Regions from separate parts of the Homo sapiens genome. Here region 1 is linked to region 2. Evidence: promoter capture Hi-C in 16 types of primary human blood cells and fetal thymus (Javierre and others, 2016). All regions are on one chromosome and are shown on one strand. The core of a region is centred on a gene start or on the middle of the fragment in contact, and the rest is flanking DNA. Distances in the headings are between cores, read along the strand shown.

Region 1 (2,625 bases), core at 126-2,625, 140 kb before region 2:
ATCAAGTTCAACTACAGGCAGCAAGTGACAACCAACAGAGCAAGAATGGAAGAGTGTGATGAAATCCATTTTAGAACCACACATTACAAAAGAAGAAAAGAAGAAGGATCCAAAGTCCATCTCCAAACAGACCAGGCAGGCATGGGAACCAGCATGGAGCAGAGAAGCAGGCCCAGATCAGAGCCTGGCCTGGCCACTGCCCCTCACTGTGCCCACAGCTTGCCCAGCACCTGGGCCGGCCTCCAGAAGTCCTGGCGGCTGAGCTCCTCTAGCACAGCGAGTGCATCCCCCACTGCTGCAGCAAAGGCTGGCAGGGGTGGGTGTGGCTCACCTTCGGGGTCGAGGAGCGGGATGATGCCCAGCTGGCGCTCAGCCACATTGAATGCGTGCTCCAGGTTGTGCCGGGCATTGGAGTCCTTCAGCTTATCAAAGTCGATCAGGTCGGGCCTGGGGACAAAACTGGACTGTGAAAAGGGAGTAGCCACAGCATCCCCACCAGGAGGGCAGCCCTAGCATGAAGCAGACATTGTACAGAGGCAGGGAGGTGGTCAGGCAGGAGGAGTGAAAGGAGGAGATGGGAGCAGAGGAGAGGGGGCAGGTGTGAGCCTTGGCATATGAGGGAAGTGGGCGGCAGGCATGCTGGGATTTAAGGAAAGTGAAGGTGCTATGGGCTGCTGAAGGGGAGAGGAGAAGGAACAGCAGAGGTCACATTTCTGTGACTCCATGTTAAGTGCAATGTGTCCAAATATTCCCAGGGAGGCTGTCTCAGTCAGTCCCCACGGCTGTCCCCTCCCTCTTACCGGTGCTTGTGTATCAGGGCATTAAAGGCCAAGCCATCCTTCCAGCTGGAGGTAAAGTTGGTGACATTAACATGAGGGTAGCTGCATCCAAGAGAAACAGTAAGAGCTAAGAATTAGATTTTTTGTAGTCCCAAACAAGTGTACAAATTGAGGGCCAATATACCAGGAGAGAAATGGAACTGTCCTTTCTTGAGCCAGGTCACCAAGAGGGGGCAGCAGCTAACCACACACAGAGGCTCCCCCATCAGATGTGAACACCACACAGACCCCCCAGTCTGCCTGCAGGCAACTTTGGAAAAGAATCCTGTATTCCAGGCCTCAAAGAATCAGGTCAGGACAGACTTTGCATCAATTACAGGGAGGCAGCTGTAGTTCTGGGTGATGATGTCTAATGTCCCTCTGGAGATGGCAGTGCTTGTGCGGAGCAAGGGGCTGGTGGTGGATGTGCTAACAGCTGGTTCCCAGGGCATACCCTGCCGTCTTCATCTGACACCACAACAGCAACGCATCCTTGGCTGAGCGTGTTTCACGACCTTCCTGAGTTTGGACCACAATGTCCTGAATCTGAGGGTAGCAGAACAAGAGAGATTTGAAGAGGATGTGCATCTGGATCTGTGCTTTCCTGCCGTCCCTGGGAGGCTCCCTCCCTCATCCCCCCTTCACTTAACACTAATTCATCCTTTAAGAGCCAGTATAAATGGCGCTTGGGTTGGGTCTCCCTTCATGTGCCCTGCTCCCTGCATTTACATTTCCTTCTCTCTCCTAGATGCTCCCTGAGCCCAGGGAAATCTGTCTTGGTCACTTGTCTGTCTCCAGGGCCTGGAGCCTGGTGCACCATCAGTACTCCATAGCTGTATTGTGGCTGTCTGTACAAACATTGATTCTGTTCCTATTATGTGGCAGCGCTGTGCTAGGCCTGAGGACACACAGAGGTAAAACAAATTTCTTGCCCTCAAGGAGTAGCCGCCAGCCCCGCAGCAACACCACATCCTGAGGCCCTGTGCCCCAGCAGCCTGCTTCCCTGCCTCAGTCAGCCAAAATGGCACAGGGATGAGACAGCTGTAATTGGATAACTCTAATAGAATGCAGAGAATCAGTGACAAGATGCCCTGATTCCTCCTCTGGAGGTGCAATGCCCCTTGAGGCTGTGGAACAACATGAATGCTGATGAGTACTATACTTTCATTAGCAGCTCCTCTTGCCTTTCCATTCTCCCCAACTCTGCTGCTATTGTTGTTCAATGTTATGCACCCATGGAGAGTGAGATCGGACATGCGGGGCCACTTGGTTGAGGTCTTTAGTCCGCGAGTTGTATGCTCTCTTCTTTCTCCTGCCCTCACCTCCTTGGGCAAGGTTCTTTCTGTCCCCAAACCAGCAGGTGCAAGACCCTGTTTTCCTCCCCTTCCCCTTTCTAAATTTCCTTACAAATAATCTGGACTTTGAATTTCAGGGTGAGAAGAGAAAAGTTTCTGATTGGAAAATATACACACAGATCTTCTACACAATTTTTGCAATTTTCTGTATCTATTTCAAAAACCAAGAAGTTACATGTATAGGGGGAGGAGGCTAAAAAGCTAATCTTCCAGCCAGATATCAACCCAGCTACCAATTAATTTCTATCTTCTCCCTGAAAAGACCATACTACTGAGTGAGCAGCTCCCCCTGAGCTTCAGTGACTTGGGGTGATACAGAAGATGGTTACTCCTTCCTACAAGCACTGTCCCATGTGGCAGATTTACAGCCTTCCCAGAATGTGCACTAACACCCACACTCTGTTCAGCATTTTATAAGATTCTAAGGCCCTGGGCAGCCTTGAGGGCTCCCT
Region 2 (5,837 bases), core at 1,594-4,093:
GAAACTCTTTCACCCTCCTACACTCCCTCCCCAGGGTCATTCTTTTTCACTGTGAAAGAGAGAGAGACAAGACAGACGAGGTGTTGCTCACTGCAGCCTTGAACTTCTGGGCTCAAGCATTCCTCCTGCTTCAGCCTCTTTAGTAGCTGAGACTACAGACACAGGCCACCATGCCCGGCTAATTTTTTTTTTTTTTTGTAGAGATGGGGTCTCACTTTGTTGCCCATGCTTTGGCTGCTCTTCAAGATTTAGCACTTCTGAGCTGTTGCTTTTGTCTCCAGTCTACCCTGAGCAGTTCTTAAGGTGTTTGAAGCAGAAGAAAGAGAAAAGAGGCTTAGGTTATACTGCTTAGAACCTCCTCTTCAACTAACCTACCGACCCACCTACCCATAAATCCATACCTACACACACACCCCTTTCCTTTCCTCTGCCCTGGTTTTGCCTCGCCTGCTTTCAATTGCACGTGTGTTGAGTATAGCCTTTGCCTCTGCCTACTCAGCTCCTTGAACTGAGGGTGAAATTGAGACCCAGAGGAATGGGATTTACAGCTTCTTGCTTTCTTCTTGCCTTGTCCTAGAACTGAAGTACAAATGGGAAGAAGCTTTGATGAAGGAAGACCCCCATCCAAGAACATCTAGTTTTCAGGTGCCATAACAGCAGAGCAAGTTCAAGGCAACAATGAATGTGTACTCTAAATGGAACTACTTAGTAACCAACAGGCATGAAGTAAATAGGATACAGGATTTAGGGTTTGGCAATAGGCCAGGGGGAGGGGGAGTTGAGGAAATAAGTGCTTGATGGCTAAAGATTGTGAGTATGTAATTATCATTCTTTTCTTGAGTAGGCTGCTACCCAAAGACTGCTGCACCTCCTATCCACTCACTGCTCTCAGCTACGCATGCTTTGGCTCAAAACCTGGTCCCTGCCTTTCCCTCCCCACTGCCATCCCTGTCCTATTCCCTCTCAGCATCACCATTCATGACAATCCAAAAGGCCTATGGGAACCCTTCTTTTCCACCTCTACCTTTCCAATTTAACAGACAGATACCTTCCTCTGGGAGAAAGTTCCTGCTTCTGACCTGTGAGAACTAACTAGTTCAGTCAGTTCCAGGCCATCATGACATCATGAGCCCAGAGCTGATCTCTAGTGGACTTCTCTGTTTTTGTTTCTGTTTTTTTTCCTGAGACAGGGCCTCACTCTGTCACCTAGGCTGGGGTGCGGTGGCACAATCATAGCTCACTGCAGCCTCGACTTCCCAGGCTCAGGCGATCCTGCTACTTCAGCGTCCCAAGTAGCTGTGACTACAGGCACATGCCACCATGCCTGGCTAATTTTTGCAATTTTTTGTAGAAACAAGGTTTCACCATGTTGCTCAGGCTAATCTTGAACTCCTGAGCTCAAGCAATCTGCCTACCTTAGCCTCCCAAAGCGCTGGGATTATAGGTGTGAGCCACTGTACCCTGGCAGATTTCTATTTCTTGATACAAATGGCTGGCTGGCTCCTGGTAGGTTATAGACTCCCTCCAGCAACTTGCTAGGCTGAAGAGATGGTGTGAGGCTGGAGGTACTTCTGGGGCTGGAGGGACATCTCGAAAGAGGGTTTGCTACTTCTGTCTCTCCTGCTCTAGAAAAGGCCAGACAGAAAACTTAGGGAAGAACAGTGAGAGCAGTGAACAGTTTGGGCTCAGGTTTGTCACAGCCAGTGATGCTTCAGCCTTCCTGCTTTCCTGTCTTCCTCACCTTCATACCACTGTGAATTGAACTAAGGGGATTATAACGAGAGGGTTCGCTTGGGTTCATTCTCCCTGCTTGTACGTTAAAATCATAGGTGGAAATAGAAGAATCCCTAAAAGAGAACTCGAGGTGTGTGGGCTGAAGATCTATAACAGCTTGACCCATTAATCAGAAATAGGTGCATGTAATGCCCAGAGGCACGTGCCTTTTGAAAACCTTTCTCTTTCCTGCTTATTTTCTTTCCACTTGGCTAATTTAAACCAACAAAAATCATCCTCAATCTAAATAACAGTTTGCTTGCATTTGCATAGTACTTTATATTTTTCAAGTTACTTTTGTATATCCTGTCCCCTAAACATCATAATAATCCTATGAGCTAAGTGGTATTATCCCCAATTTACAGATGAGGAAACTAAACCGAAAAATGAAGCGCCCTTTCCGAGGGCACAGAGCCATTAAATAGCAAAACCAAGTCCAGCTAGAGCTAAGGTCTCTTGAGTCTGTCCAATTCTTGTTTGATTCCTGGCCTCTACTTTCTCCACTCATTTATTCAACAAATATTTAATGAGTGCTTTCTGTGCCCTAGGCACTGAGGACACAGTGGAGAGAAACACAGACCTGGAACCAGCCCTCATGGAGTAATATAGTAGAAAGACAGTAAACTATAAAAATCACACAGCCTCAGTGTTTAATCTTAAAAAATATATACCTTCTCTTGGTATGTCACATGCACCTAAAGACCTAGCTTAACAAAACATACCCCATTATTCCAGACACTCCAAAACATGGTCATTCAGCCTCTCCTTTTATCCCACCTGAGCTACACCAACCCAACACTTTTGGTGCATTACAAGGAGGGACCCCTCACCTGATGTCCAAATTGGTTGCAAGGGAAGCCAAGGACCACCAGGCGCCTGGGAAAGCGGCATTGCAGCTCGTTGAGCTGGGTGAAGTCCCGGGTGGTTGTGCCTCAGAGCGAAGCCACATTCTCAATCAGCACGGCCCTGCCCCGGAACGTATTGAAATCTACCTTCTCCCCATCCAGGCTGATGGCACTGAGGTCATAGAAGGACTTGGCAATGAAAGCCATGGTGAAGCGCAGAGTGAGCCCCGCAGAGAGGCCTGAGCCCACTTATGAGCCTATTAGAGGGGTGGGGAGGAAGGAGGAGCCAGGAAGGAGGACAGAAAGGATCTAACAATGGAGCTTTGAGCATCCCCAGGATGACTTAGCAAAAACAGGTCCCCACCTGTAAGTGCTGTTTGAACAAGGAGGTTGCTCCTCCTATTAACAGACTGAACAAGGCCGCCTCCCCGCCCCACCCTGCTGCAACCTGGGAAGGGCCAATTTGATATCTATGAGCAGAGGTAAATAATTCACTGCTTACAGGAAACCAGAGCCCTAAAGGTCGAATGGAGAGGAAAAAAAGGGAGGGAGGGATGCAGGATTGACTCCTACTTGCCCCATCAAGTTGTTCTCATTTGACACAGACGTTTATTGAATGCCTGCTGAGTGTCAATCTCTGAATTGTACAGTGAGAGGGCAGGGTCTGCGGAGATCTGAAAGATGAAGAAGAGAATTGAGCCTCCTATCCATGGGACTCAGATGACAACTGAAATATACATATTCCTGTTCACGTTCTTCTCTTTGTTGCTTTCCACCAGGACAAAATCAAAGGGACCCTTAGGAGGAGAGTGTGTCATTTTCTAGGGGAAAAAAGAAGTTTTCAGTGCCTCAGCTCTTGCCAGGCTGAAGAGACAAAGTTGTGTTTATCTTGAAAAGTCTTTCAGTGCGTGGTGCCACTTGTCCTGGAGAACACACCAGCCTCTGCCCCTGCACTGTACCATCTCCTATATTATATCCCCCACCTCCACCTCATCCCCCAGCCCCCAAGTCATGAGGCTCAGTCGTTGCTGGGAGAATGGTGAAGAGGAGTCACAGAACAGGTGGATAAACTTAGTGGATGAACTGCACCTACCTTCCTCTCAGACAGAGATTTGGTCCCCAAGACTTTTCAGAGCGGGTTTGTGCTGGTCACCTTCCCACAGAAGGAAGTGTGTGGAGGAAGTTGAAGCTGCTGTGGTTCCAGACGCAGGCAGGTCACCCCTGATGCTTTCAACAAGAGGCGTGCAGTGCATCGCAGGACATCTGCTAAGGGCCATCTCAGAGGCCCACCCCTGGAAGCCACAGAAACCGAAAAGACCCAAGCACCCGCCAACTCAACAAGTTACTCTTTTAAAAATGCCTTGATTTCTTCATCAGTAAAACTAGCAATGGGGCTTGACCTAGCTTTGGGATTTTAGAGTGAAATTTCAATAACAAAGCAAATGTTTACTAGGGTGTTTTCACAGGGGCACATCCATTGGGAACTGTCTCCTTGGAACAAAGAATAAGCAAGTCCGGGGAGCAGCTGGTCTTGAGAATCTGATTTGTTGAGATGAGATGAAGTAATTATCACCAGGGAGCGCCAAGCTGCCTTGCAGCTTTTCCATGGCTGTTCAAGTATACAGGGACCATGTGTCTCAGCTGGCTGCTCCCTAAAAACAAGTTTCCATTACCTAAGTGGACAGAAGGAGTGACAGGAAGTGTAGAGGGAAGTGTGTCCCCTGCTGAAGCTGGGTGGAGTTCCTAGAAGCAACCAATAAGAAAGAGTCCCCACCAAGCCACTGAGTCACAAGGACTTGGCACTGATAGTGGGCAGAACTGTAACTTGCCGGATTTATGTGCATACCTAGAGCTTCCCCCTAGTACTCTCTGGGCCTCCAGAGACACCTCTTATTCTCTGCTCTTTTGCAAGCCTTCTTCAAGAAGGCCATGGGAGTTCCCAAGATGAGGAGTGTGGGGGTTCCCTCTTCCTTAGGTACATGCCATCCCTTTTCTCCTGGTGTGACCTTGGACCCTTCAGACTCCCAGGGTTCTCACCTTTCCTAATGGAATATACTTGGTGAGGCTCTCCTAAAATATCTCTGTCTCCAAATTTACCTCAAACTGGCCTCGCTTTCCAAAAGCTTACAACTTTAAGCATACACTAAGCAGCGTATGATTCTTATGGCTTTCTGTGGGACAGTGCTTGCTCTGGACACAGCACTGGCTTAGGCAGAAAGCCTGGGTTGGTGGTTCTTAATTCTGACTGCAAATGAGAATTGTTTGTAGGAATTTTTCTAGAGATGCCAAAGCTTTGCCCTCCAGTGATTCCAATTCAGTGGTTTACAACCACAATTCTGCCACTGTTACTTCGGACCCTTAGGCAAATCTTTAAGCTCTTTTTATTGAGACAGGGTCTTTCTCTGTCACCCAGGCAGGAGTGCAATGGTGCAACTGCAGCCTTGACCTTCTGGGCTCAAGTGATCCACTGGCCTCAGCCTCACAAGCCACCACACTCAGCTAATTTTTTCTAGAGACAGTGTCTCACTATGTTGCCCAGGCTGGTCCCAAACTCTTGGGCTCAAGCAGTCCTCCTGCCTCGGCCTCCCAGAGTTGGGATTACAGGCATGAGCCACTGCACCCGGCCAAATCTTTAAGTTCTCTGATCATCTGTTTCCTTGCCTGTGGGACCTGGGTAGATAACCACCCTCCCCATCTCACACGGTGATGGTTAGGGTCAGAAGAGTTTATCTATCACTAGTGCCGGGTAAAGTGTAGTGAAAATCTTAAGACTACTGTTGTCCTGCGTTGTCCTACTCCTTTCTTCATTCAGTCCTTATCCCCAATATTCTCCACCTCCATCAATTCCATATCCCAAAGTATGAAATACCTGCAGTCCTGAGATCCCAGTCTGCCTCTGCTCCCCCGAGGTATCCAATCACAAATCTGAAAGATTATCCAGTCCCACCTCATGCCTTCAGGAAGACCCGTTCCTGACCCACACAAACAGATGAGACTCATCTTGGCTTTAAAACCTGCTCATAGATGTTCAGCATCCTCTCGATAACTGTGTTTCATCTTATTTCTGCAGTGCCAGCCCAATGCAGGGCAACGGGGCTTTGCTTTGGGCCTCCCTGCAGGTGGCACTAGGGAAGGTAGAGAAGGGAAGACAATGTTTGCCGCTTCCGTGGTCACTCTACTGCTGTTGCCTTTGCTTCTGGAGCTGCTTCTACCAGCACT

What was found. Contacts are between HindIII fragments. The CHiCAGO score rates a contact against its expected background, and 5 or more counts as called.
Region 1: a contact is called between a fragment that was not itself captured here and the fragment with the promoter of GPX2 in region 2, in 1 of 17 cell types (megakaryocytes). The highest score is 8.4, in megakaryocytes.

The regions. Positions count from the first base shown.
Region 1 is chr14:64,800,954-64,803,578 of GRCh38, forward strand. It overlaps SPTB (spectrin beta, erythrocytic), which reads right to left. Exons shown (of 36, transcript NM_001355436.2): 5 at 1,273-1,364; 6 at 801-881; 7 at 332-447. Among named protein-coding and RNA genes, the nearest start is that of MIR7855, 17 kb to the left of the region's middle. The HindIII fragment of the contact is 4,238 bases long and covers 1-2,625 here.
Region 2 is chr14:64,939,902-64,945,738 of GRCh38, forward strand. It overlaps GPX2 (glutathione peroxidase 2), which reads right to left and starts at 2,844. Exons shown (of 2, transcript NM_002083.4): 1 at 2,604-2,844. The coding sequence starts at 2,825. The region is part of intron 3 of CHURC1-FNTB (CHURC1-FNTB readthrough); the gene reads left to right. The HindIII fragment of the contact is 4,140 bases long and covers 600-4,739 here.